Linked DNA regions of Homo sapiens: all the other regions are linked to region 2. The links are contacts of gene promoters, found by promoter capture Hi-C in human tissues and cell types (Jung and others, 2019). All regions are on one chromosome and are shown on one strand. The core of a region is centred on a gene start or on the middle of the fragment in contact, and the rest is flanking DNA. Distances in the headings are between cores, read along the strand shown. Region 1 holds the start of LOC124902258 (a long non-coding RNA gene). Region 2 holds the start of PAPPA (pappalysin 1). Region 3 overlaps PAPPA (pappalysin 1). Region 4 overlaps LINC00474 (long intergenic non-protein coding RNA 474). Region 5 overlaps PAPPA (pappalysin 1). Region 6 overlaps PAPPA (pappalysin 1). Region 7 has its middle 41 kb from the start of LINC00474.

Region 1 (3,956 bases), core at 128-2,627, 210 kb before region 2:
CTCATATTTGGTTCCTAATTTAAAGAAAATGTTTGGGGAGGGGAGGAGGGCAAAGCATAAATATATTGAAAAGATCATCTAGAAAACCAAGGAAGGATTACATTGATGGAGTAATAATTATATTTAAAATATGTGGTGGATTATTATTTTTAAAGAGTTCTCTACTATAAATAACATCCCTCCAAATAAATAGGACTCCCTTCACTGAATGAAATGCATGCATTTCCATATATAAATTAAATGATCTGTCAGCATGGAATGGAGAAAAGTGAAACAAATCAAACTGAATTTCAACCCTGTACTGGACTTCATAGAGTTGTCCCTAAACCTCTTGGAACATTATTCAACTAGCCCCTAGCCCATTGAAGTGGATTCTGTTTCTTCGCTTCACTTAGAGGGCAGGATTGCTGTGAAATTCAAATGAAAACCCCTCTGTGAAAGCTGAACCATGAGGTAACTAGCATCCTAAACCTGCCTAACCTTCACACAGGCAACTGCCAGTCAACAGTTCTTCAAGAACTGATGAGCTCATGATCAAGAACATGCCAACCAGGCAGAAAAGTAATCTTAAATGAGCAGCTTCTTAAAAAAGGAGAAGAAATAGAAGAAGAAAGATGATGGAAAGGAGGAAGGGATATCCAAAACAGATTAGAGAGAAGAGAAAAAATACCTTCAATCATTTGACCCCTCTAATTTCTCCCTACCAGTCATGCCCAGACTTCCCTTTCTTTCCACAGCTTAGATCCTGGGTGCCCACTTTAAAGAATTCCTTTATCAATAGAATATTTTTACTTCCTCTACTATGCAATATTCACTGATTTGCTTTATTAATGTTACAATCTGAACACTGCTGCTGAAAACTGGGAGAATTAAAAAAAATGTCCAACCCTGTGAATTGGGGCTACAAGAAATTGATAGTCTCAGACCTTGAGCTCTCAACACTCTATGGATTTGTCTATTCAACACAGAGCAATCATTCATGTTTCTCCTACACGCTCCTCTCAAGCTTCCTCCCTGGCCACTATTTCACTGATCCCAAGTGAGTCTGGAAGCTCTACCAATTCTTGGCTCTCCACAGATAAAACCTTCCTTTATTAGTAATAGAATCCAGGACAGGAAATTTCTTCAGTGTTCTCCCACAAGTCTTTAAGATAAGCTTCATTTCCATCCATTTTCCTCTCTTTCTTCCATCACAATATATGGCTGTGTCCCTTGCTATCTAAAGTTTATCCCTCCATCTGTGCTCTGGTGAACTTCTCCAGAACTTGTCCCTTTGAGCTATCCCCATGCCATCGTGTGTCATCAACCCCATCCTTCCTTCTCCCATGAATCCTTTCCATCAGCGCTACACAGAGGATATGTTCACCCATGTTAAGATGCTGAAGTTTCTCCCAGATAACAAACCACAAAACAAGCTGAGTGTGTGTCCTCTTCCAGTTACTAACATTTTTGTTTTCAGCCCTTTGCAACCTAACTTCTATAAGAATTGTGCATACTCCTAGTCTCTCATTTCTCATCCCCTATTTTCAAATCAACCCATTATCATCTGGCTTTCTTCCCTTCATTCATATCTCATCCCAATGGCACATGCCATTGTGCAATATGTAATTCATAAATATTTGGTGAATGAATCAAACTTGTTTTACCCCACCTCTCCACTATCTTTAGCCAAGTTTATCAAAGACCTCACTGTTGCTATATCCAATAAATGTTGCTCATTTTATCAAATGGGCTTATTCACAGCGTATGACACTGCTGTCATCATGTCTCCTGGATTCCTTTTTTTTTTCCCTATAACAGCTCTATCAAGCTATAATTCACATGCCTTAAAATTCACCTTTTTTGAAATGTACAACTGAGTGATTTGTAATATATTCACAGAGTTGTGCAATCTTAACAACTACTTAATTCCAGAACATTTACATCACTTCAAAGAAACCCCATACCCTATAGCAGTCACTCCCAATTCTCTTCTTCCACCCATTCCCTGGAAACCACTAATCTACTTTCCGTCTCTTTGGATTTAACTACTCAGGACATTTTATGTAAGTGAAGTCATTTAAAATGTGGTCTTTTGTGACTGGCTTATTTCACTTAGCATAATATTTTCAAGATTTATTCATGTTGTAGCATGTATCAGTATGTCATTTTTAAATGGCTGAGTAATATTCCATTGCATATATATATCACATTTTGTTTATCCATTCACCTGTTGATGAACAATTGGGTTGCTTCTAATTTGTTACTATGAATAATGCTGTTACGGAAATGTGTGTACAAGTTTTTGTATGAAAGTGCATTTTTATTTTTCTTAGTTATATACCTAAGACTGGAATTGCTAGGTCATATGGTAACTCTATGTTTAACATTTTGAAGAAATGTCAAGTTTATTTCCAAAGGAGGTGTACCATTTAACATTTCTGCCAGCAATATATGAGGGTATCATTTTCTCCACCATTTTCATCCTTGTCAAACTTTTTACTATCTTTTAAAATTTTAGCCATCCTAGTCAATGTGAAGTAGTGTCTCACTGTAGTTCTGTTTTTAATTTTCCTCATGTCATATTATCTTGAACATCTTTTCATGGGTTTATTGGCCATTTCTATATCTTTGTTTGAAGAGGAATGTCTACTCAGATATGTGCTCATTTTTTAATTGCATTATTTCTCTTTATTGTTGAGTTGTGATCATTCCTTATATATTTAGCCTTTAGAATATATAAGGAATGATCACAGAGATAAAAGTACAAAACTCTTATAGAGACTCTTATGAAATATATGGCTTGCAAACATTTTCTCTCATTATCTGGGTTGCCTTTTCACTTTCTTGGTGGCGACCTTTGAAGCGAAAACTTTTTAAACTTGATCTTATCCAGTTTGCCTACTTATTCTGTCTTCACTTATGCTTCCAGTATCATATCTAAGAAACTTTTGCCTAACCCAAAGTCATGAATATATACTACTATATTTACTTACAAGACTTTCGTACTTTTATCTCTGATATTTAGGTCTATGATCCATTTTATGTTAGCTTTTCTGTACAGTGTAAGGAAGGGTCCACCTTCATTTTTTTCCAGGTAGATAGCCAGTTGTTTCAGCACCACTTGTTGAAAAGACTATTTCTTTTCATATCGATTTGTCCAGGCAACCTTGTCAAAAATCAATCAACTATATTGTAAGGATTTACTTCTGAATTTTCATTTCCACTGCATTAGTTTATAGCCTATCTCTCTGCAAGTACAACATTTTCTTAAATACCATACTTTTGTTTAAGTTATGAAATTAAAAAGTGTGAATTTTTAACTTTATTTTCCTTTTTAAAAATCATTTTGGTCCTTCTTGGTCCCTTACATTTTCCTATAAGTTTTAAAATCAGTTTGTCAATTTCTGCAGAAAGTGGCACTAGGATTTTGATAGGGACTGCATTGAATTTATAGTTCAATTTGGGAAGTACTGCTATCTTAACAATATTAAATTTTTCAATCTATAAATGTGGTTAAATTTCAATTTATTTAGGTCTTCTTTAATTTCCTTCAGCAATGTCTTGTAGTTTCAGTGTACACGTCTTGCATTTCTAAACCTCGTGGACTATGTATTTTTAAAAAATTAATTAATAAACTTTGGTACAGCAGAATTTAAACTATCTAATAATTATAATAAGTTACCTGAATATACTCCCAATGAAGAATCTTTGTGTTTTTATTATATTTCTTTAACATAGGAAACCCTTTTAATCCATGTACGATATTATTTAGTTTATAATTATGTGTTTGGGCCATACCTTCCTGTTTCTTAGTGTGTTTCACAGCTTCGTGTTGAAAACTGGAATTTTTCATAATCTAATGTGGCAACTCTGGAAATAAGATTCCTCACTTCCCAGGGTTTTCCACTGTTACTGTTTGTTGTTCCTGCTGTTTGAAGTTTGTTTGGTGACTTTACTCAACTTATTATTTAAAG
Region 2 (3,920 bases), core at 328-2,827:
CATTCCAGCTTTCATAGAGGGGATGTCTGAGTCATTTGCTCATCCGACAAATCGTCATACTTTTGCCAACAAACATTCTTCCTTGGTTTTCTCTCTTCCTGAAGCGTGTAGCAATGTTCCTAGCTCTCAAGAAAGATCTGGAGCAGCTCGGAAGATAAGAGCAATTGAAGAAGAAAGTTACAATTTAGTGGAGTTAATTTTATCGCAGACTTTCAGCACGCTATTCACATGCAAACTTCACACAGAATATTTTTATCACTACCTTATTGGAATAGATTGGTAATTAATAGCTTGTAATCCACCATTGCTAACATGTTTTGACTTATTAAACACTTGGACAAAATAAAAGAAGATCTGTTTTGCCATAAGGGGGAGCTTTTGAGTTCTATAAAGAGGGGGAAAAAAGAAGAAAAAAATATATTACATGTATGTCCCAGTTCAAAAACAGACCTACAAAGCAGCAAATGGTCAGATCCTTACCTGTGACTTTAACAATTTCAGAGGACCTGAATTGCTTAAGTTGAAAACATTAGGCAAATTAATATTTTTCTCTCATTTTCTTCTTATAAAATTAAAATAATTTCTAATGACCAACAGAGTATTTTAAAGAGTATTCGGGGAAATTCAGAGACCCAGTTGTACTAGGACTACAGCTTCTGAAAGGCAGATGTCCTGGACAGTGCCTTTCTTCTATTTTCTTCTGATGATTCCATAAGAACTTTGGAAACATTTGGGTTAGCTGAAGCCAGCCTTATCTGGGGGCTCAGAAAAGAGGGGAATGGTTCATCATCGTACAACTTTAAGGAAATTCTGAGAGGGAAAAGGACAGGGAAAAGAAGAGGGAAAGAGGTAAAGGGAGAGGAAGCGGGAAGAAGAGTAAGGGAGAGAGTGAGAAAAAGAGAAAGAGAGGGAGAGGGAGGGAGGGAGAGACAGAGAGAGAGAATTAAAAAAAAAAATCTAAGAATCAAGTTTCAAGACTCTTTATGTGCTACAGAAAAGGATGAGGTTTACCAGCAAAGTGCAAAGGGGATCCTAAGAGAAGAGACAGATTTTTCTCCTGCCATCAGAAATAATAATAATAAGTGGGGGGAGTGAGGGAGGGAAAAAAAGCAAGCAAAACAAAACAAAAACAGGAATGTGTGTTTTGAGCAGGAATGAGAGCTGGGAGGACCGTAAGGGGGTGTGTACAGAATTTCATTAAATTGTTACTTTAAGATTGTCTCCTTAAAAAAAAAAAAAAAAAAAGAGAGAGAGAGAGAGAGAGAAAAGGAGGGGGTGGTGGAGAAGCGGGAGCGAAGGAAAGGAGGCAAAAGGCAAAGTGAAGGAAAGCTGGATAGCTCGGCCTCTCCAAACTGATTGATTAGTCATGATCCCCGCAGTTTTAACAGGGACTCATTCAATTGGGAAGGTGGAGCGCTGGGGAGCAGATTAGCATACGCTTGTTTACTCATCTTCTGAGGGATTTTTTCCCCCTCTTTCCTTTCATTTTGAGAAGAAGGAGGGAGGGGAGGGGGGACTTGGGGGGGGAGAAGGGGGCTGTGGCTTGTGTTATAAAGGACGCAAAAAATAAATAAATTAGAGCATCTTTTGGGGGGAGGGAATTCAGCGGATCAGTCTTAAGAGGAGCTTTTTTTTGGAGCGAGAAATCATATAAAATAAAATGAAATAAAACAAGGAGGAAGGCAACCAGCTGTTAGGGGAAAAATAAGGCAGATAAAGGAGCGGGGAGAGAAATTAATTGCCAACCAGGAGGAGTTGGGCTGTATTTTTCAAAGGTGGGGAGAGTGGAGCACACACCTTGAGGAGGAAAGCGAGAAAGAAAAGAAAAAAGCAAGTGGAAAGGGGGGCTCGCCCAAGAAGGGTGAAGAAGCGAAGAAAGTCGAGGCGCCGAGGCTCCCAAAGCTGGCAGCTCCGGGTGGCGGTGCAGGGGCGAAGGGGGGGCGGGGGGAACCGTCGGACATGCGGCTCTGGAGTTGGGTGCTGCACCTGGGGCTGCTGAGCGCCGCGCTGGGCTGCGGGCTGGCCGAGCGTCCCCGCCGGGCCCGGAGAGACCCGCGGGCCGGCCGACCCCCGCGCCCCGCCGCCGGCCCGGCCACCTGCGCCACCCGGGCGGCCCGCGGCCGCCGCGCCTCGCCGCCGCCGCCGCCGCCGCCGGGCGGTGCCTGGGAAGCCGTGCGCGTCCCCCGGCGGCGGCAGCAGCGGGAGGCGAGGGGCGCCACCGAGGAGCCGAGCCCGCCGAGCCGGGCGCTCTATTTCAGCGGGCGAGGCGAGCAGCTGCGCCTCCGGGCCGACCTCGAGCTGCCCCGGGACGCGTTCACGCTGCAAGTGTGGCTGCGAGCGGAGGGGGGCCAGAGGTCTCCGGCAGTGATCACAGGTAGGTGAGGGCGCCTCGGCGGGCGCTGCACCGTCCCTGCGGCCCCAGAGGCTCGCGGGTGTCTGGGCGCGGGTGGCGGGCGGGTCGGGGGCTTGCGGGCGTGTCTGTGCGAGAGCTGCCCCGCGAGCGGCGCAGAGACATCCGGGCGAGCTGAGAGCCTCACTTTGCTCCATCGGTGGAATGGGCACACTCGGAAGGCGTAGCTGCTCCATCCCTGGGAGGAACCTGGGGAGCCCTCCTGGCGGCCCCGCGGACCCTCGGCCAGTGAGGGCTGGTTCCCGGAGCCTAGGGCACGTAACCCGTGCTCCGAATGGTCAGATGCACTCTCTCCTTTTGGGATGAAAGGGAGGATGACCCAATTGAGATGCATGTGAAAGGAGACTTGGGGACCGTTGATTTCTTTGACGTTTTAATGGAGGTAACTCCCCTTCATTAGGCCCCATTCCCCTGAAAGCCGGCAAGGGCAAGGTTGTTGTAATGGCCAGGACTTAGAAGTCCTCGAAGTGCCCCAAAGTTGCTCACTGATTGAAGCCTGCCTCTGGGACTCACCCTCACCCCCTCCACGCCATCCCATGTCCTAGCTTTTAAAGCCCATTGCCTGTCACTCGGGGCTGGGACGAGACCTTCCTAACGCATACCCCGCCAGCGTTCCCCAGACGCGGCTGCGAAACGGGGCGCTTTTCTCATATGGGACTTTATGAGCCCGTAATGAATTTGAGTTCTCCCTCCTCAACCTCCCTCTCTCTCCCCTTCGCTGTTCCACAGCAAAGCCTATAGTGAAATCGGACACTTTGCGAGGATTGCAAACCTTAGAAATGCTCCAGCATCCATTTTCCCCCCTCTAAATGAATCTGTGGAAATGCCTTTAATAAAACTGGGGAGCGGAGGTGGGGGCGGCGCTGGAAGAGAGGAGGAAAGTTTTGCCTTTTCTGTCTGGGAGATTCCCTTTCTGCACAAACAATCTTGCCATGTCCTGGGACGTCTTAAAGTGAGAGTAGGGGTTCCCCCTTCACTGCAGCCAGGAAACGTGTGAAGGCGTTTTGCGATCCCACCCCCTCACACACACACTTTCTTAGAAGGGAAAGCTGTGAGCTCTCCGGGCAGTTCTGCTTCTTCCTGTCTTTCCATGGCTTGGACTTTCACAGATGTAGCACTGACTATCCAGTTGACATGAAGACCCCTTTAGGAGACCCACACTCTGCTGCTATCCCAAGAATACGTCTCCCGAAGCCCCCGCTTTCCAGCTATCAAAGGAGAGCGATACAGTGATTCCCCCCAACAACCCACAACTGACGTCATCGCATGCTATTTTTCCTTTTTTTTTTTCCTCCGGGAAGAAGAAGGAGACTGAACTCATTCACTTTTAACTCGCAAGCCCTATTTGCCCAGAGGAGGGTCTAATTTGGAACAGAGGAAACGTTATCCATAATAATAATGACGATGGTGATAATTTAGAGCTGTAGTATGTTGACTTCTCTTTCCAAACATGTGAAAAAGCAAAGAGACTGCTGCTTGGAGGTGATTTTTTTTTTTTTTTAATCTGTAG
Region 3 (4,348 bases), core at 860-3,359, 220 kb after region 2:
AAGACACTCCTACAGATGGATTAAATTAGCTCTCAAATAAACAGGGGAAGGCATGGGCATCGAATCCCTAGTGGATTCTAACTCTGCTGTTTTCCACTTCTTGAACCTTTACCAAATGCCCTCCAACATCTCTGGATTTTGACTGGGAACAGACTCTCATACTGAGAGAGGAAAATCTGGTTAAGAGAATGAAAGCAGGTGATCCTCTTCACCCAGCCCCATGGCTGGGAGGCAGAGGGGGAAGAACGTAGCTTAATTGAAAGAAAGGAATACTGAAACAACCCAAATTCCCTCATTTGTATTTGTATCACATTCCTTCATGTATTTCTTCACTGTGCTCCACGCTTCACCCTGGAAGGATACAGAAGTGTCTATAACTCAGGATCTGCCCTCAAGAAACTTAAGAAATTGGTACTAGGTTTACCATTTTCACAGCATTTATATGAATGCACCATCTCAACAAGTCTATGATGTTTTCAGTACCTATCTTGTGGATGAGAGAACCAAATCTCATAGTGGAAATGTACAAAGCAATTCCAAATCAGAATTGCAACCACATCTGTCCCATATCATATCCCATGACTTTTCCCATATACCACTTTATGCGTGTACTGGGGATGGGTAGACAATTTCAATAGAAGCAGTAAGATGCAAGACAGTAGATTTCACATTGCAAGACTGATTGGAAGATCATCAAGTTAAGCTCTTTCTCCAAGGTCTTTGATTTACTTGAAGGTTGATAGTGGCTACATTCAGCCTATACTAAACTGATCCTCTAAACTAGACTTGTTTAGAGGACAAGTCTAGTGCTTGACCTTAGATGATCTTCTGATGCTCTAGAAGACAGGAAGACAAGTAAAGAAATTATTGTCCACTGGTAAAATCATCTCTATTTTGAGAAGAATCTGTTCCTTTATAAAATAAATATTTATTTAGCATCCCCTCTGTCAGGCATTCCTGAAGGCATGGCATATCTAATGTGAACCTGAGATTTTATGGAGCAGAGAAGAAAGGCACCCAATCCAGTCTTGGGGTCACCTGATTCCCTCTGTCACAGCCTCACCAAGAGGCCTAATTACAATTTGGCTACCATATAGGTCTGCCCTCAGGGAGAGAATAGGCTGTTTACATGGATTTTCCACATTTTGGCCCAGGTGACTCTTCATTTTTTAATTAAAATTAATCAACTGGCCTCTCAGTCAGTTGAACAACCTCTGATCATGTGGACTTCCATAGTTGGTTGTTCACAGTTACCTGTCACTACACATCTAAGCATGTACCATTTTATTTTATTTCATTTTATTCTTTAAAGAAATAATTGTAATCTGGCATGAAAACTGGGGCATCCATGGAGAATAGAAAAGGGAACTTCCAGGATTTTTTTTTTTTTTTTTTGAGACGGAGTCTCGCTCTGTCGCCAGGCTAGAGTGCAGTGGTATGATGTCAGCTCACTGCAACATCTGCCTCCCGGGTTCAAGCGATTCTCCTCCCTCAGCCTCCCAAGTAGCTGGGACTACAGGCATATGCCACCACACCCAGCTAATTTTTGTATTTTTAGTAGAGACGGGGTTTCACCATGTTGGCCAGGATAGTCTCGATCTTTTGACCTCATGATCCACCTGCCTCGGCCTCCCAAAGTGCTGAGATTACAGGCGTGAGCCACCACGCCTGGCCAAGCTTCTAGAATTTTTATGGTAACTGTATTCCTAATACTATGTTATCTTTCTAGTCTTATTTAGCTTTCTTATTTCACCCACTTTTTAAAATATCATCATGTTGGATTTTATGTTATGAGCTTTATTAAATCATTTCTGAAACAACTGGTTATTTTCAAATCCTGGTTTCTCCACCAAACAGCTATGGAGCATGGGGAATTTACTCTCTTATGACACAAGATTAATGCCCACCTCACATCATCATGGCAAGAAATAAATAAGATAATGCATACAGTAATTAGCACAATGAATATACTCAATATATTTTAGTTGTCATTATCTTCATCATAATTATTATTTTTAAAGAGGAGGCTATAAATAAGTGCCTATAAGCTCTGCCTAACGGGGCTAGGAAAAGTGCCAAAGAAGACATAAATTTTGAGCAGACATTTAAAAGATTCTCAAAGTGACAAAATGGGGAAGGGCATTCAGGGAAGGGGAAGAGCAAGAACGAATTCACTGTGGGCAACCTCAGAGAACTGTGGGCAGACCAGTATGACACGGCAGCAGGTGACAGCAGAGGGGTTCTCTGCCTTTCCAGGGATTTGAACCATAGGTTGGTTCATAATAGCCCATGTGCTCTCAGACTGTAGTGTGCATTGGAATCATCTGCAAGGCTTGCTAAAATGCAGAGTCTCAGGGCCTGGTCTCAGAGAGTCCAATTCATTAAATCCAAAGCAGGTCTGAGGAATCTGCCGTTAATTAAACACACTCCCACGGCAATGCTGATGAAAGTGGTCTTCAGCTCATGCTTTGAGAAATGCTGCTCCACAGTTTTCTCCCATCCGCCTGCTGCAGTCACACACATGTATGCACACATACACACACACACATGCAAACACACACATGCGCACACACACACACACCCCTCCTCCCCCCACCTTATCCCAACTCCACGAATGGGTCGAATATTAGTCGAGAATTTTCTGAAAGGCCTTTCTGATCGTGTCTCTACCCTCCAGTTCTGCTTCTCCTCAACCCTTGTTCCTGCCAGGGAAATACAGAACCATGACACATGCGGTGAACACAAATATTATTTTAATCTTGTGGCTCCTGTTATTGCAAGTACCCGGGCAAGTTCTCCATGTAAAAGCCAGGGTGAGGTCAGGAATTGGAAGGTCCCAGAAGAGGTGAGGTGGTTAAATGTAATGCCAACACGGAGGTGGGTCCCTCCCAATCCCAAGCCCATCTGACCTTTCTCTCCCTCTTCCCACAGAGAGTTGTCTGCACTGCTGGTCTCAAGTGGTATCCTCACCCTGCTCTGATTCACTGTGTCAAAGGCTGTGAGGTGAGTCACAAGGAAGGCACTCCTCAGTTCCCTGGAAATAATCCTGCTGTTGTTATTGTTATTGTTATATTAATGTTGGCTATCCTTTGCCATACCTACTGAGTGTTGAAAATATCCATTTAGCAGACTTCTTGGACAGGGATTAGCAGCCTTATTTTACAGATGATGGAATTGAGGCACAGAGATATAAAGAAACATACTAAAAAGCATAGGGAATGGGTAACAGAGTTGGGTTCCAAGCCAGGCTTTTGTGGCTCCAGAGCCTGTGGTCTACAAAATATGGGATCTGTAAGAAAGGAAGGGCAGGGGGCTATAATGATTTACCATCTAGAATATGCTAATGTTGGAAATTTACCAACATTGTTACATTTAACCTTTACAGAGTCAGGTGAGGTGGTTTTATTTTTAATTTCCATTTTACTGATGACCTTTACTTGCAGACCTATTCCTTCTGCCCCACATCTTAGTCATTTACTCATGCCTCAATCCCAGAAGGAATATGAATGCCTTAGACCTAACCATTGAGCTGAAGTGAAAGAGCCTTTATAACCCTTAAATTCTATGACTTCACAGTTGAGCCATTCCTTACAGCTTGGAATTATAGAGATCTGTCTCTGTGTGTCAGTGACAAGCTTGGGAGGACTCAAGGAGCATGGTTCTTGGGAGATCAGCTGTGTCCTGAAGGGAGGGCTGTCCACGGAACTCAAAGACATTTCTGCACATCACTCTGCCCCTTGTGGCTCTTCCCAGCTGGCAGTGAAAAAGCGGCCCCAAATCCCTTCCAGGTGGATGGCCAAATCTCTGTGGTTCATCCAGAGCCCACTGAGGCAAACGCAGGTGAAAAGGATCAGACCATGCCCTAGAAAAAGTCGTATCTGATGAAACTCTTAGAATGCCAGAACCAGAAAGACTCTTTTACCTAATCTCAACTAATCTTTTATTTTTAAAATGGGTAAACAGAGACCCAGGCAGTGGCTGGATCTAAAATTTGATGGAATGCCAAAACTGGGAAGGCTCTTAATTTGATCTAGCTCTATTTTCTTGGTGTATAGAGTAGAAAACGAGGGCCAGAGAGGGGATGGAATGTCCAAGTTTGCACAGCATGATAACCACAAAGACAAAACGTAAGCCCAGCTCTTCTAACGTCCAGGCTGGTGCTTTTCTCCTGCTGCCTGCCTATGATCCATTCCCTGATCTGTGTCACAAGACAATCCCTAGGTTACACATTTTTTTCTCTGCATTGTTGAGGGATTTCCTGAGGGCACTTGACATTGTACTTGACTTTAGGAACCCCATTCTCTCAGGCTTCAATTAGGAATGGCAAAATCAAAGCCAAGGCCCTGTG
Region 4 (4,005 bases), core at 377-2,876, 240 kb before region 2:
ACATGCATTCAGTGTCCCAGTTACATTTGGGTTCCAGCCCAAACACATTTGCTCTGGTTGCTCCCATTGCCTAGAAAACCTATGTGTCTTCTCTTGCCCAGTGCTCTTCAATAGCAGATAATCATGATCATACGATTACTGCTAATAATAATAACAATAATAAAACAGCTATCATTTATTAAGTCATCATTATGTGCATAATAGCGCAGTGTGATTTACATACATATCTCATCTCTCCTAAAGTTGGACTCTATGTAAAGATTTTTTGGTATCTCTCACCTTGCCTAGGACAAGAAGAATGATAGGCACTCAAGAAACGATAGATTCAATTATCTCATTTAATCATCACATTGGATCAGAGGAAAATATGTCAAGAGATGCTCAGAATCTTCTCAAGGTCACACAGCTAATGTAAATGTCAGAGCTAAGATTCAAACAGAAGTCTGCAAGATCATAAATTTCATCGGGATCTGTATTGCAACAAAGTACCTGCATAAACTTCAAGCTTTTTTTTTTTTTTTTTCATCTCTCAGGGAAAAAGGCATCAGGTTGTAATGAGAGCTGGACAAACTGGGAATAGCTAGTAAAAGTAACCTGGACATCGAAGTTTCTACGTGTGTGTTTTGTTAGAGAAATTGGAGGGAGCAGTGTACATGGTAGCAGAGGAATTGCTGGTCAAATACCCTTTTCTCTTCCACTTGAAAGGCCTCTCTCTTTTAAGTACATATTGATTAGAGTCCAAATATCTCAATTCTATTCTTAGCCCAGCACCTTAATTACAATGGATTCTCAGTTAAACCTGATGGTTCAGTTCCCCACCATCCTCCACTCCAAACTCCTTTTAACACAGAGATCAGAATAATGCATCAGAATGGCTTTCTTTTTTAAAGAAGTGATGATCTATGAGAAAAGTGTATTAATAACATTATATTCATGTTAAACATTTTAACCTTAATGACCCAGAGTCATTTTTCTTGGCAGACAAAATCTCAATGCCTAATTTAAAAAACAGAGTTATATAACATTTATGGTTAAATAATAATATTAATAACAACAGCAACAACAACAATAATAATCAATTTTAAGGCATTTGCTATGTAGCAGGCACTATGCTAAAATAATTATATGCATTATTTCATTAAATACAATCAACATCCTATATAGTAATTACCATTATTATGTTTACTTTGTAAAACTTGGCCTTAGAGAAGTGAAGAAATGTATCCATGGCAGCTAGTGAGTGAAAGAATTTGCAATCTTTCTGGCCCTGGAGTCTAAGTTCTTAATTATTAACATAAACTGATCCTCCTAGTGAGAAACAGGATGGTGTTTCAAGAGCTGTAAGATATAGATTTGGGACTCAGAGGGGTTAACTCCCAAAGGAAACAGACATAATATGAGTAGAATAAGAAAATGCACATGTGAGTGCTTTTGATTTTTTTAAAGGATTAGAAAAATCTAAGCAACTGCGCTGTATGTCATAGAATTTTACGTCAGGGACAAGGAGACCTCCATGACCACCAGCAGCAGACCTTAATGCCTCTTTCACTTGAATATCACTTTATAGTTATCCGGCAAAGCTTAATCCACAGTACAGTTGCATAGTTTCTTGTGAGTAGCTTAGTCAGACTTGGACACTGTAGTGCAGAATGCCTAAGTGTTTGGCTTCAGATCAGAAAGTAATACATGGAAGTGCTAGGTGTCAAATCTTTGTCATTCTGTTCCAGTTACAGGATTCTTTCTTACAGATAAAAAAGAGTTTGATGAATTTTAAGCATCTTGACAAAAAGTACAGTTATTTGGTAGCATTGTCAAAATGGTTTTTAGAGACACTGGGGAAAAATCAGAGAGCAAAAATGTGTTTTGGATAATTCATCAGAAATATTATAACAACATTTAGGTCTTTCAAAAGGAGCTGCACACTATTAAATGCACCAAATCATGACCAGCAAATATGTAGGTTTTCTGGCTTTCGAGGACTGAAATTATGTAGCTTTTACTGAACGTGGGGAAAAGGATCCAGAATTTTCCTTCTTCAGAAATACTCAGGAATAAAATCACAGAAGATTTGGAGGTCAACGACTTCAGTTAAAATCTTGAACAGTTTTCTCTACAAGATTGTGAGATCCATCACTAGATCCTTTTGGGATACTAAAGCTGAGTTATGAGTACGAATTTAAGCAATGGGAACCACCCTGTGTGTGTACATCTATGAAAATGTTCGATCCAAATGGAATCCAGATCACAGGGGCGGAATACGTCTGAGAGGCAGCATTGTTACTTATACCACAAATCATTATTTTTTTCTTTCCATTTTATAAATTCCACTCCAGGATGAAACATTCAAGTTGTGGAAACATTCAAGATCAGTTTCTCTTAGTGGCTATCATGCACATACTGAAGCAAGATGAAGACTGGCCTTGAGTCATCTTGTGGAAGCTCATTTGGGGTGTCAATTCCAGGCTTGTGTTTGAAACAGGATTTGGGGACGTCAGTTCCAGGCTTCTGTGTAACTTAGATTTTTTTGTGTGTATGTTTTTTATTCTATCCTGGTGATGTTTTCCAGACTGAGTCCACTATTGTGGTTTCTATAGAAAAAGAGGAGAGCTGGAATAATAATACTCCATGATGTACGTGGTTTCCTGCTCCATGTGTGGAGTTAGAAAGTGAAGAGGAACGAACGTAACATAGTGTGGCCTACTGCAGCAGAGCAGGGGCTTAGGGAGAGGCTTAGAAATGGCTTTGGGAGGGTAGGCCCTGAATTGTGTGTTGGCGGAGAGGCTAGGATAGTCAAAGCATCACACTTTGATTGCCTTCTCTACCTGTCTCCCTGCTATTCCTCAAATATGACAGGCATCCTCCTGCCTCAGGATCCTTGCACCAGCTGTGATCTCTACTCGGAATACTCTTCTTCAAAGCTGACTCCCATAACACCTACAATGCTCATTCAAATGCCATTTTTTTCAGTGAGGCTCACTCTGATCACCCTATTTCAAACTGCAATTTGCATCCTCCCTAAAGCCTTGTTTTTCCCATACTTACTCCTTTCTAACAAACGTGTATATTTATTTAAATTTGTTTTTAGTTCCCTTTTAGAAGGTATGCTCTGAAAAAGAGAGGATTTCCATCTACTTTGTTCACTGATAAATCCTAAGCACACAGAATAGGGCTAGCATAGGGTATAGGCACTCAAATATTTTTTAAATAAGTGGTTAATTTTTTTCATATTGTTTCCTTTAATTACTTTTTTATCACATTATGATAAAAAATGTCATAATATAAAGCCTGTCAATGTACTTCCTTTTAAAGTTATTTTTTTCTGCTGGGCACGATGGTTCATGTCTGTAATCCTAGCAATTTGGGAGGCCAAGGTGGGCCTATCACTTGTAGATCAGGAGTTCAAGACCAGCCTGCCAACATAGCAAAACCCTGTCTCTACAGAAAAATACAAAAATTAGCCAGGCCTGGTGGCACACGCCTGTAATTCCAGCTATTCGGGTGGCTGAGACCGGAGAATTGCTTGAACCCAGAAGGCGGAGGTTGTAGTGAGCCAAGATCATGTCACTGCACTTCAGCCTGGACTACAGAGTGAGAACCTGTCTCAAAATAAAATAAAATGAAGTTATTTTTTTCAAAAGGTACCAATTTAGTAAACATGCTCAAGGGATACAACTGTACCTACGCCCAAGTCATTTTAGTTTTACAAATATATAATTAGTCAAATCAAAAAAGGCATGTCTGACAGATGAATGAATGTTAAGACAATGCTAAATAACCTTTAAGGGGAAAGGCTGAGGAGGCAGAGGTGCTTGTATGTATCATCTTCCAGGAGCCAGGCATTGACAAACACCACTATTACAAATAAAAGCCTGAGATTCTGAAAATTTAAGTGACTTATGGAGGTTACACAGCTAATAAAAAGAAGCAGTATGATTTAGATTCATTATTCCTGACTCCAAATCCTATGATTTACTGCAACATAGTGTACTATCTTCAAACTGTAAA
Region 5 (4,245 bases), core at 1,646-4,145, 190 kb after region 2:
ATAACAGGCATCTTGTTTATCCCCTCCGTCCACTATATTCCCAATGTATAGAACAATGTCTGGTGCTCAGTAAAGCCCCCAGTGAAGGTCTGTTGAATAGACGAATCAGTGGATGATGTCTCACCCTGTTGACAATCCTAAGAAACAAATTATTTTATTACTTCCACTTTACAGATAAAGAAACTGAACCTCAGGATGTTATATAAGTTTCCAAAGTCAGACAACTGATAAATGGCAGAGCAGGGGCTGGAGCCCAGATTTCCCTGATTGGTAAACCTTGTGCTCCTTCTACCCCAGAAAACGAAGCATTTCAGATCTTCATTTTCCTGTGAAGAAGAACTTAATGTGCACAAAATAATTGGGGAGGGCACTATTTATACTTTAATGGCTCTGCAACTTAAAGAAGAAAGTCATCTTTCCCTCTGGGTCTTCATAAGAGCCCAGGTACCTTCTGAGCGTGCAGAGTAAGAATGCCCAAACTGTTAGGCACAGGTCAGAACAGCTTGGGAGCTAGTAGCTTACAGAGTAAATATATTTAAATTGGAACCATGTGGTTCCTTCCCCTGGTGCTTACACAATGTGAACAGATGCATTGTTTAGTGTCAAAGCCCTTGTGTTGACTCCACAGTTACAGTCTCTTTGAGGTCTCCACATGGTACAATGCTGAGGCTGTCAGGAGTAAGAAAAAGGGCAGAGAATTGGAGTTGTCTCAACAAGTGTTCCTTAATGCCAGTTGCCCTGCATTTCAGAAGGAGAGTATTGGAGAACTGCAAAGCTCCCATCAGTGAGGGTCTGAGACCTAAATTAAATGCTTGTCCTTTCTGGGTCTTTAAAAAAGTAAATTGGTTTGTGATATGCTTTGGAAGCTTTTAGCTCCCCCCGCCTCCAGACTTTATTTCTCACTATACTTTTGAGCAGAGGGTAGAGAATAGGAATAGATCCCAGTAAAACCCTCAGTTGGGTATCGTGAAACTGAGAGAAAACAAAAAACAAAAAACAAAAACAACGACAAAAAAAAAGTGCAAAACTTTTCTGACACTGGTTTGGCCAAAATGTCTCCCTGTCTCCTAGATAAAAATAGGAACATAAAAGCCTTGAGGTTCTAGATGTAAATCATCGGTGCATACGATAGGCCAGGTGTTGGGGGTAGACACAGTCAGAGAGGCAAAAGTCAGAGAAAACTGCCCCCTAGAAGCTTTTACTGTTAGGCAGAATCAACCTCTTTAAAGTGTTTAAGAGCTATTGCAAGGCATCATCACCATTGGTTTCCTGCCATTTAGGAAACATCTGCAAGGAATTTTTATTGGCACTGCAAAGTACACCAAGATGAAATAGGCATTTTCTCTGCCCTCAAGGACGTTCTAGTCCAGAAACATGGGACAAGGTTAACAACAAGGCCTTTGGAGTCACCCCTCTGGATGGGCACTTAAACAAGTAACCTAATCTTGCCAGTCCCCAATTTACCCAACTGTAAAATGAGTAACGCTTAGCTCATAGGGTTGTTGTAAGGATGGAGTGAGCTCATGTATATAAGCAATCAGCAAATAGTAACTAATGTTATTGAGTGCTTGCCTAACTATAATACAAGGGGAATGATCATCCAAGAATGAGGATTTCATGCTGTTTCTGTTTGCATCCTTAAAGATTAGCCTGCAATCTGTTATGTTCCACTGGCACTGAGGAACTGAGTTTTTAATACATCAAACATGAGGCAACAGCATTATAGAAAGAAGGGTAGAATACCCATGAGGGTGCTTGCCGAGGGACACAAGAGAAAGCTTCCTATGGAAATTTGCATGATGCTTAGACCTAAAGAACGGGTGGAATTCAGACTGGCAGAAAGGTAGAATTCAGAGTTGCAGCAAGATGCAAGACATAGTCTCTGTACAACTCCACTAATGATGTGTAAGTTATCTTACAGTTTATAAAAGACTTCTACCTCCATCACCTCAGTTGAGTCTCGTGGCTATATGAGGTTGGCCAAATTTAAGAGTATACCGAAGCTCAGAGATGTGATGTACTTTGCCAACTAGGTAATAGAGCATAGGTATATTTACAACATCAGCTACCACTTATTTTTATTTATTTATTTATTTATTTATTTATTTATTTAGAGATGGAGTTTCACTCTTGTTGCCCAGGCTGGAGTGCAATGGCGCAATCTCAGCTCACTGCAACCTCCACCTCCCAGGTTCAAGCTATTCTCCTGCCTCAACCTCCTGAGTAGCTGGGATTACAGGCGCCTGCCACCACGCCCAGCTAATTTTTTGTATTTTCTTTTTTAGCAGAGGTGGGGTTTTACCATGTTGGTCAGCCTGGTCTCAAACTCCTGACCTCGTGATCTGCCCATCTCAGGCTCCGAAAGTGCTGGGATTACAGGCATGAGCCACCGCGCCCAGCCCAGCTACCATTTACTGAGTGCTTAGTATATGCCAGGAGTTCTGCTATGCGTTTTTTTCTAAACTGATTTAATTCTCAAAATGATCCTTGTAAGTGGGTACTCACAAAATAGAAAAAGGCTTTTGCTCAACCTGGTGCCTGGTAGAAAAATGCAATAAATATTCACTGTAATCATGATGATCCCTTTCTCACAAATGGAAAAACTGAGGCTATTCAAGGTTTAAATCTTGATAACATACAAAGCTTTCAAGTGGCAAGATTTGAACTCTGGTTTGTCTGTTGCCATAACTTGTGCTCTTAATGAGAAACTTTAATCGCTGCCTCTAGAGTCATCTTCACCCTAGCCAGCACCCCTTTCTGTCCTCAGTCTCAAGCCCCCTGAAATCTTGGAGAAAGAGGCTCTTAGCCTTTATCTTCCAACTGAGCATAGCTGTCCTGTGAGGAGACTCCTTCTTCCCCTCGTTTCTTTCCTCCCCAGCTGCGTGCACTTCGCATGTGAGAAAACTGACTGTCCAGAGCTGGCTGTGGAGAATGCTTCTCTCAATTGCTCCAGCAGCGACCGCTACCACGGTGCCCAGTGTACTGTGAGCTGCCGGACAGGCTACGTGCTCCAGATACGGCGGGATGATGAGCTGATCAAGAGCCAGGTATGTGCAGGTGCTGAGCTCAGAGCCTCTCTGCAGCCCAGGGAAGGCTTACTGGGTGTTAACCATGTTCTCTGCTAAATACCCAGCAGCACTTAAAATAGTGCTGCCACATAGTAGGTGCTCAATAAATATTTATTGATTAAATGAATGCATGAATGAATCAATTAACCAAGCAAGCAGTCTGGAATCTCTAAGAAAAAGGGTTCCTGTGCAGAGTAGTGTTCCACACAATACTTACCAATGTTTTTGTGTAGGTTGCAAATCTCCAAGACCATGGGGCTGAGTATTTTGGAATGAATATCTTACAGTGAGAACATAATTGAATGGGCTGCTTTATGACAAGGTGAGCCCTCTGTCAATGAGATGCTCATTCATTCACTAATTCATTGCAAAGCATCTGTTCACTGGAAATTGGATGCTATAGTAAGTACTAAAGAAAAAGAAGCCATTAAGACAAATCGAGTCCTTCTTCTGAAGGAGCTTAGTGCCTAGTGGTGGAGGAAGAGTCAGACAACTCATTAATGATGACCCCACTGTGTGATAAATGCTGTCAAGGGAATTGTAGGGTGTTGTGGAGGCACAGAGAGATTCAAGGGAGGTGCCTTGGAAAAGTGACATGGAAACAGCTAACTAGACAGATCAGCAAAGGGGTGTGTGTTGGGGAGAAGGAAGAAATATATGTAGTAGGCACAGGCATGGATAGTATGTGGAAGCACATTGATGAGAAAAAAAAAAAAAAAAACATGCCACAGATTTTTTTGTTTGTTTGTTTTCTTTTTCTGTACTCACCCAAGCAATGAGGCTGGAAGGGCCAGCTGAATCCACTGGTGCAGGGCCTGTTGATTTAGTCAGGAAGTGTGGGGTTGATCTTCAGGACAACAGGGAGCTGTTGCAGGAAATGACATGGTCAGATCCTGGTTGACAAAGTCTCTTCTAGATACTCCATGTGGGTGTAGCTTGGAGTCTAGCAGTAAGACTGGTAGCAGGGAGACCCCCTCCCTCAGACAGTCATCAAAGGAGTCATGGAAGATAGGACGTGTCCTGCGTGAGATTGGTGGTAGTGAATGATTTGGAGTGATGTGACAGAATGTTGCTTCAGCAAGATGGTGCTGTAATGTCCCAGGTGGGGCTTGGGGGAGTGGGACAGGTTGTCCTGGGATTTGAGGATTTCTGTCACTAAATGTAGCATTTTCCAGGG
Region 6 (4,335 bases), core at 1,252-3,751, 170 kb after region 2:
TTTTTATCTTTGTTGCTTTTGTTCCTTTGGGGTCCATTTTCTTCATGTGGACCATGGGAATGAAGAACCTAACACATAAATAAGTGCTAAATAAATGTTGAATGAATGAATGACAGAATGAGAGAGACATAGAAACATTTGATCCTAGGCTGGACAGAAAAAAAAAAGATGCTTTCAAAAGAAAACAGATCCCTGGGAGCACCCAAACCACTGCCTCTCACCCTGTAAGAATACAAGGAAGGTTTTGCATCCCACTCTTTTAACCCCGTCAGCATCTTACTCTTGGAGGTAGCACATGTGCTGTGAAGTCACCCACGGACCATCTGGCTGGGGATCCCGTGTTCCTCCTCTGCAGCAAGAGATTACGTAAACTGGACAGCAGCCTCCAGATGTTAGCAGTTTCTGCTCATTTTTTTCCTCCCTTTTCAACAACAATAATAATAATTAAAACAAACACAGGCCTCATCCCCCACCCGCACCCCTGAAATTACAAACAGGTGGGCCCAGATGTCCTCCCCCTTCCCATCCAAGGGCCTCCTATTCTTGAGGCCCAGCCGCCGACCCTCAGCAGGGCCTGCCCTGGGCTGAGCCGGACAGTCATGCCAGCTGCCCTGTGGCTCAGGCCACAGTCTCCCGAAAGGGGAAATGGCCATGTCATGAGAAGTCTCTGTGCCAGACTTTCCCTCTCCCCGCCTCCCACCCCAAAGCCTTGGCCTCCAACTTAAATGGATGTATTTTGGAGGACTAGGTGGCTTAAGAGATTAGTAATGAGATCCCAAGTCTTTCACTGCTGGGTCAGGAGTTCATAGGCGGGCCTGGGCGACTAGTGAATGGCATAATTAGGGAGACAGGGAGCAGGCCTGCGGAGGGCCCGTGTGAAATGAGCCCAGCCAGGCCTTTAATGGCAGCAGTTGTCAGCAGCACAAAAGGCGGCCGCCACATCCGACACTAATCACTCTCCCTTGTTAGAGGATTTACTAGCTGGAGGAGCTCAAGCCCCCTGCCCATCTCCTCCTCAAAACGGGCATCTGGGAAGGGACTCGGCCCAATGCCTGGCTGTACTGTCTGCAGAACGGGGAGCTGATGCCAACCCCATGGGGTAGAGGTGTGAGAACTAACATTTCATGCAATATAAATGAGTGACTAGTGTCATTATATTAATCAGTACTTCCACTGCTATTGTGAATTTTCTTTCTCCATTTGAAAAAGGGGGTGGGGTGGGTGATGAATCTCCCCATCACAGTGACATAAGGATGGTGTCCATGGAGGTGGAAGCATTTGGATATTTATCATCCTCACCGTTATTGTCATCATTCTCATTAAGATCAGCATGTACACTGTGTGGGTCTCAGTTTTCTCATCTGCAGAATGGACTGGGAATAGGAGATAGAACTGAAGTAACACAGACTTCAACATCCACTCCGAACAGGTGTGGCCTTGGCACCTTATTTATTACCTCTGAGCCCAGGCTGTTTATCTGTAGGACAAACAAGAAGGAGGATAGTAATACTGGCTTCCCGGGAATGTGGGGAATCTATGTTTGGAACATAGGTGCTGGACAGTAAATGATGGCAAAGAAAACATGTTAGCTTTACCACTTTCATGAATGGTGTCTTAGGCCTCTAACATAAGCTTTTCCCTTAGAAGAAGGTTGAGACATCTATCTGTTGTCCCCCAGAAATCCTGAACCTGTGTGTATGAAATTGAGGAATTTAATGAGTAGTCTCTAAGAATCAATTCTATGATTCTGAACCATATCATTTCTAAGAAACTTAGTTTCCCTATCTGTAAAAATGTTAGTATGCTGTAGGGCAATACGTCTTATATGATTTCTATATTCCCTTTCCATTGAAAGCCTGGCTTTTCCTCCATGATCATTTGGTCTGGCCAGGGGTTTGCACCCTAAATCCCAGGATTTCAGACTTGTGGGGAGGTGCCAGCCTGAAGGGTATGAGACCCCTAAGGAGTGTGAAATGCCTAATGTGTTAGGGACAGATCCCTGGAGCAACGAGGTGCTAATCAGCCCAGAGCTGAGCCCCAAGGCTGGAGGGCATCCAATGCCAAGTTATCTTATCAGAAAGTGTCTCCTGGGTAGAGGCTCTGAGATCTGCTGCTATTTCTAGAACTCTGGGAGGGAAGAAGAAGCCATCTCTCTGTTTCACACTCTGGCCCTGCACACAGGAAATGCTTCTTTCCTTGATTGTCTGTCTATGCCGAATAATAAATGCTCATATTGAAAGAAACGCAAACCACCCCTCCCTTTCCCCTCTATCTCTTTAAGGCAGGCATCAAAGGGGAAAGCTGCTCTGGAGGCCTGGGGAAAGTGATAATTGTTTCTAATGGTTGGTAAAAGAAAGCCTGGCTCCCCCCTCTCTTTTTTCTGCCATTGCTATTAAGTGTGTAAAAAGGAAGTGTGTGTGTATGTGTATGTGTGTGTGTGCCTGTGTGTTGTGTTGTGTTGTGTATCTGTTAACCCTCGGCTTCCCTTAAAGTTTTCTGTGTTCATTGGTCAGTTTGGAATTAGAGGCATAAGAGGGAAGCAGGGATAGAAGTAGGAATGAAGAGAAGATCTCAGGTAGGAGAGGTCTATAGTGCTCCGCAGGTAGTGGGAGAGGCCCTGAACCTGAAGTTGGAAGATTTGAGTTGTGTTTGTTCATTATATGCATTAACTGAGATGAGACATGTAAAGTGGTATTGTTGTTATACATTTTTTTTTTTTTTTGAGACGGAGTCTCACTCTTTCACCCAGGCCGGACTGCAGTAGTGCTATCTCGGCTCACTGCAGGCTCCACCTCCTGGATTCACTCCATTTTCCTGCCTCAGCCTCCCGAGTAGCTGGGACTACAGGCGCCCACCACCGCACCCAGCTAATTTTTTGTATTTTTAGTAGAGACAGGGTTTCACCGTGTTAGCCAAGATGGTCTCGATCTCCTGACCTCGTGATCCGCCCGCCTCAGCCTCCCAAAGTGCTGGGATTACAGGCGTGAGCCACCGCGCCTGGCCATACATTCGCTTAGCATCTAAGCTGGACCTTCCTCTGCTCTTAATACTGAAGATAGAAAAGACAAGAGCTCATTCTTCCCCTCAGTGAGCTAATGACCAAGTTCAAGAATTGCAAATAGGATTCATCTTCTAGGCCAGTTCTGAGCAATTAGAGTGACTCCCCATAGTGTTTTGTTGAGAAGGATTTAGAGGCCTACCTTCAGGGATGCACTATGTAATTAATGGTGCCTGTCCTGTGCAATGGATGAGAGAATGGTAGCACTGATGTCACGTGGGAATGAGTCCTGGTTCTCCTGGTCCCTTTCCTGCACTACATGGTTATTATTATCTCTAAACATTGGTCTAGGCCCTATAGACTTTGATTTCTAGATCTAATGCGTCACCAATCTTATAAAGCCTTGGGAAAGCCATATTAGTTTAACATAGGGGACATTTGGTGAGCCCTGCCCAGTAACCTGCATTAGACACTGATGAAAAGGAAAGAGAAGTCAGGCATAGGCACTGTCTTTGAAGCTCATACATGGAGATTCAGATGGACAAACAAGAAACCATAATGCAAGTGTATTACCTCAAGGGTATGGACCAAGAGTTATTGGGAGGTCAAGCCATGGAGTAAGAAGAGAACAGACTTTGCGTCAGACGAGCATGAGTTTGACTGCTAAGCCGTGGCAGGCTGATCAATGCCTACCCAAACCTCAGAGTCCTTATATCTCAATTGGGGATAAAGATGCTTATTTCACAAGATTATTAGGAAGGTAAAATGAGATAATACACAGGCAGCACCCATACTGGGCAGACCATCTTTAAGAGTTGGTGCTGGCCAGGCGCGGTGACTCACGCCTGTAATCCTAGCACTTTGGTAGGCCAAGGCAGGTGGATCACCTGACGCCTGGCCAACATGGTAAAAACCCCATCTCTACTAAAAATACAAAAATTAGCTGGGTGTGGTGGCAGGAGCCTGTAATCCCAGCTACTCGGGGGGTGGAGGCAGGAGAACCGCTTGAACCTGGTAGGCAGAGGTTGCAGTGAGCTGAGATCGTGCCATCGCATTCCAGCCTGGGGTACAATAGGAAGACTTAGTCTCAAAAAAAAAAAAAAAAAAAAAAAGAGCTGGTGCCCTCTCTCACTCTCCCAGGAAAGCACTGAGGAGGGAGAACATCATCTGATAAAAACAGCAAAGCCTGGTTTATGGAGGAGGTTTTATTTCACCTGGGCCATTCTGTGTCCAGGTTCCCTGAGGCCCTTTACAGCTGTAGTCTTATAGGCTGTCTCCCAGCAGGCTTTCCCTCCTGTAGTCCTCAGGACCCTTAAGAATCTTGGAGGTTTATATCA
Region 7 (3,988 bases), core at 739-3,238, 190 kb before region 2:
GGATAGTGGATGGATAAATGAAGACATGGATGGATGGATAGATGAATAAATGAATGAAATAATGGTTATGGAAGATATACACCCAGCTGTCTTGTACTCATCTGCTTGCCAATTAAATCATAACATTTAGTAAATATTAAATAAATTAATTGTTCACAGACTGTGCTATATATTATTTGTGCTTTGAACTTGGAGCAAATTCTCTCTTTATCATAGTAAGCCCAGGAAAGACTATCTTGCCCACATTTTGGAGAGATTCATTTTCTATGTACTGTACTCTACCTATTGGAAGTCAGGGATTTTTTTTCTTAGCCATTTTTGTTGAGTCATTGTCTTTATTTTGATAAGAAGGAGCACAGTTCTTTAAAAATTTGGACCCCCAAAGCCAATTTTTATGTTTCCCCAAGCACTGCAATTGAGGCCATTCTGCCTGGCTATTAATACTCTAATGGAACATTGTGCCCTCTTACAGAGGGGAAATCAGACATTGTGCTGAGCTGATTAGAAGTGATGGCATGGAGCTTCTTCCTGAGAACGGAAGTCTTGTAACCTCAAATACCAAGGACTATAAATCTCAGCAATATATAATGGTAATTGGTTTGAAAGGCCTAATCGACACAGAGAACGGAAGCCAAGTGCAGAATACTCAGGACTGGAAGCTCCAAGCCTCTGCCTCCTTCCAGAAGGAGATGTGTCATTTTCTCCCTCAGTGCTGGGAACAGCAATAAAGGATTTCAAAAGTTGAGCCTCGCTAAATGTCCAGGCTAGAAGCCCTGGGTGGTGGTCAGTAGGGTCTAAGAAATCTACCTGCAGCACATTAATCTGGGGACCTGGTAGAAACACAGATTCCTAGTTATCATGTTTGACATATTGAATCAGAATCTGTAAATTTGAGCCCAGTAATTCATGGGAATTTTAACAAGTTTCCAGCTGATTCTTATGCACAATTATGTTTGAGGACCATATTGGCAAACATCAATCCCTATATACTCCATGAGATCTTCCTAAGTCCCCTACCTCTATATTATAATGAAAACATCTCTGATCTTGAAAATGTTCTTCCTTCTTACTCATATCTGTGTTTATCCAAACTCCATGCTTTCTTCCAGTGCTGTCAAAAACCTCCCTGCTTCATAGAGTCTATTCTAACTCCCCAGTCATGTAAAATAATTCCCTTTTTTGAATGACCAAAACGGTACTTAACACTATCAATATTATATATTACAATGAAAACATCTCTGATCTTGAATTTAGCCAACCAATGCTTAAATTTTGTGTGAGCCACCTACTTAATATGCAGGCTTTAGGAAAGCTCTGCTTTCTTTCTTTAATCATATTTTCTTCATTTTGCAAATGAAGAAATTAATGTTCACCAGGCTAGATTCTCATCAGGATCCAAAATGATTCAATAGTATATGAAAATGCTGGGACATGGTAGAGATCCAATAATAGTAGTCACGAGCTTGAAAACCATGTATAACTTCAAAGGGCATTAAAGACAGATTTGGCTATGCACCTCTGAATTTGAAACTAACGAAGTCAAATCTGTTTTGAATATAGACACAATACAATTGAGATACGAAGAGTTGGAAAGAACTTGACTTGATTTCCAGTTTCATTGTTTATTAGCTACAGAGACTTAGGCAAGTCACTTAGTTTCTTTCAGACTCCAATTTGTCATCTGTAAAATGGGCATATACCACCTGTTTCTCATACCGTGAGAATTAAGGATATTTATGAAATGTAGTTGGCATGTGTATTAGCTTGTTCTCATACTGCTATTAAAAATACATGATACTGGGTAATTTATAAAGAAAAGAGGTAAAATTGGCTCACAGTTTCACAGGCTGTACAGGAAACATGATGGTATCTGTTTTGGGGGAGGCTTCAGAGAGTTTTTACTCATTTGGGAAGGTAAAGGAGAAGGCATCTTACTTGAAAGGAACAGGACCAAGAGAGAGGAGGGAAATATAACATACTTTTAAACAACCGGATATCATAACTCACACACTATCATGAGAACAGCACCAAAGGGTTGGTGCTAATCCATTCGTGAGAGCTCTGCCTTCATGATCAAATCACCTCCCACCAGGACCCACCTACAACACTGGGGATTACAATTTGACATGAGATTTGGTGGGGACATAGATCCAAATCATATCATTCCACCCTTGGCTCTTCCAAACTCCACGTTCTTCTCACATTGCAAAATATAGTCATGCCTTTCCAATAGTCCTCCAAAGTCTTAACTCATTCCAGCATTAGCTCAAAAGTCCAAAGTCCAAAGTCTCATCAGAGACAAGGCTAGTTCTTTCTGCTTGTGAGCCTGGAAAATCAAAAATAAGTTAGTTACTTCCAAGCTACATTGGAGGTATAGGCATTGGGTAAATACACCCTTTCCAAAAGGGAGAGATAGGCCAAAGGAAAGGGGCTACAGTCCCCATGCAAGTCTGAAACCCAGCAAGGCAGCCATTAAACCTTAAAGCTCCAAAATAATCTCTTTTGACTCCGTGTCTCACATCCAGGCACACTGGTGCAAAGGGTGGGCTCTCAAGGACTTGGGCAGCTCCACCCCTGTGGCTTTGCAGGGTTCAGCCTCCATGGTTTCTCTCATAGGTTGACATTGAGTGCCTGTGGCTTTTCCAGGCACGCCTTGCAAGCTGTCAATGGATCTGTCATGCTGGGGTCTGGAGGATCATGGCCCTCTTCTCACAGCTCCACTAGGCAGTGTCCCAGTGGGGCTTCTATGTGGGGGCTCCAACCCCACATTTCCACTTTATACTGCCCTAGTAGAGGTTCTCCATAAAGGTTCCACCCCTGCAACAGGCTTCTGCCTAGACCTCCAGGCTTTTCCATGCATTCTCTGAAATCTAGGCAGGTGTTCCCAAGCCTTGACTCTTGCACTCTGTGCACCCATGGGCTTAACACCACGTGGAAGCTGCCAAAGCTTATGGCTTGCACCCTCTGAAGTAATGGCCTGAGCTATACCTGGGACCTTTTTAGCCACAGCTGGAGCTGGAGTGATTGGGATGCAGGGAGCAGTGTCCAGAGGCTGTGCAGGGCTGTGGGGCCCTGGGCCTAGCCCAGGAAACCATTCTTCCCTCCTGAGCCTCTGGGTCTGTGATGGGAGAGGCTACTGTGAAGGTCTCCAAAATGCCTTTGAGACCTTTTTCCCATTGTCTTGGCTATTACCACTTGGCTCCTTTTTACTTATGCAAATTTCTACAGCTGGCTCGAATTCCTCCCCTGAAAAAGGGCTCCTTTTTTTCTTACCGGATAGCCAGAGTGCAAATTTTCCCAAGTTTTATGCTCTGCTTCACTTTTAAATATAAATTCCAGTTTTAGGTCATTTCTTTGCTCATCTATATGAGATAAGTTGTTAGAATCAGCCAGCTTACTTCTTGAACTCCTTACTGCTTAGATAGTTTTTCCTCCAGATACCCTAAATAATCATTCTCAAGTTCAAGATTCCACAGATACTTAGGGCAGAGGCACAATGCCTCCAAGTCTTTTGCTAATGTGTAACAAAAGCAACCATTAGTCCAGTTCCCAATCAGTTCCTCATTTCCATCTGAAACCTTCTCAGCCTGGATTCACTGTCCATATCACTATCAGCATTTTCATCACAACCATTTAACAAGTCTCTAGAAAGTCCCAAATTTTCCATCATCTTCCTGTCTTCTTCTGAGCCTTCCATACTCTTCCAACCTCTGCCCACTACTTAGTTCCAAAGTTGCTTCCACATTTTCAGTTATCTTCATAGCAATGCCCCATTCTGTATTAGTTCCTTCCTACACTGCTATAAAGAAATACCTGAGACTGGGTAAATTAATTTTTAAAAGAGGTTTAATTGGCTCATGATTCTCCAGGCTGTACAGAAAGCATGGTGGCAACTACTTTTCAGGAGGCCTCAGGGAGCTTTTACTCATGGTGGAAGGCAAAGCAGGAGCAGGCATCCTATATGCAGGAGTAGGACCAAGAGGGAGAG

Evidence for each region. The method cuts DNA at HindIII sites, captures the fragments that hold promoters and counts their contacts. A contact is called where the count stands out against the background at its distance.
Region 1: a fragment that was not itself captured here is called in contact with the fragment with the promoter of PAPPA in region 2 in 1 of the 25 tissues and cell types used here (IMR-90 fibroblasts).
Region 3: a fragment that was not itself captured here is called in contact with the fragment with the promoter of PAPPA in region 2 in 1 of the 25 tissues and cell types used here (mesenchymal stem cells).
Region 4: a fragment that was not itself captured here is called in contact with the fragment with the promoter of PAPPA in region 2 in 1 of the 25 tissues and cell types used here (mesenchymal stem cells).
Region 5: a contact is called between a fragment that was not itself captured here and the fragment with the promoter of PAPPA in region 2, in 1 of the 25 tissues and cell types used here (mesenchymal stem cells).
Region 6: a contact is called between a fragment that was not itself captured here and the fragment with the promoter of PAPPA in region 2, in 1 of the 25 tissues and cell types used here (mesendoderm cells).
Region 7: a contact is called between a fragment that was not itself captured here and the fragment with the promoter of PAPPA in region 2, in 2 of the 25 tissues and cell types used here (IMR-90 fibroblasts and mesenchymal stem cells).

Annotation. Positions count from the first base shown.
Region 1 is chr9:115,937,620-115,941,575 of GRCh38, forward strand. It overlaps LOC124902258 (a long non-coding RNA gene), which reads left to right and starts at 1,927. Exons shown (of 2, transcript XR_007061749.1): 1 at 1,927-2,045. The HindIII fragment of the contact is 3,170 bases long and covers 1-2,962 here.
Region 2 is chr9:116,152,214-116,156,133 of GRCh38, forward strand. PAPPA (pappalysin 1) reads left to right here and starts at 1,578. Exons shown (of 22, transcript NM_002581.5): 1 at 1,578-2,374. The coding sequence starts at 1,960. RefSeq lists a silencer at 3,355-3,444. The HindIII fragment of the contact is 11,414 bases long and covers 1-3,920 here.
Region 3 is chr9:116,374,645-116,378,992 of GRCh38, forward strand. PAPPA (pappalysin 1) reads left to right here. Exons shown (of 22, transcript NM_002581.5): 20 at 2,932-3,003. Among named protein-coding and RNA genes, the nearest start is that of PAPPA-AS2, 13 kb to the left of the region's middle. The HindIII fragment of the contact is 3,818 bases long and covers 201-4,018 here.
Region 4 is chr9:115,912,253-115,916,257 of GRCh38, forward strand. All of the region lies in intron 1 of LINC00474 (long intergenic non-protein coding RNA 474), which reads right to left. Among named protein-coding and RNA genes, the nearest start is that of LINC00474, 11 kb to the right of the region's middle. The HindIII fragment of the contact is 3,658 bases long and covers 1-3,455 here.
Region 5 is chr9:116,341,665-116,345,909 of GRCh38, forward strand. It overlaps PAPPA (pappalysin 1), which reads left to right. Exons shown (of 22, transcript NM_002581.5): 14 at 2,879-3,047. All of the region lies in intron 1 of PAPPA-AS2 (PAPPA antisense RNA 2), which reads right to left. Among named protein-coding and RNA genes, the nearest start is that of PAPPA-AS2, 20 kb to the right of the region's middle. The HindIII fragment of the contact is 7,322 bases long and covers 1-4,245 here.
Region 6 is chr9:116,318,324-116,322,658 of GRCh38, forward strand. The region is part of intron 10 of PAPPA (pappalysin 1); the gene reads left to right. PAPPA-AS2 (PAPPA antisense RNA 2) reads right to left here. Exons shown (of 6, transcript NR_170222.1): 2 at 1,300-1,477; 3 at 281-421; 4 at 1-68. Among named protein-coding and RNA genes, the nearest start is that of PAPPA-AS2, 43 kb to the right of the region's middle. The HindIII fragment of the contact is 4,306 bases long and covers 349-4,335 here.
Region 7 is chr9:115,964,606-115,968,593 of GRCh38, forward strand. No RefSeq gene overlaps it. Among named protein-coding and RNA genes, the nearest start is that of LINC00474, 41 kb to the left of the region's middle. The HindIII fragment of the contact is 3,892 bases long and covers 43-3,934 here.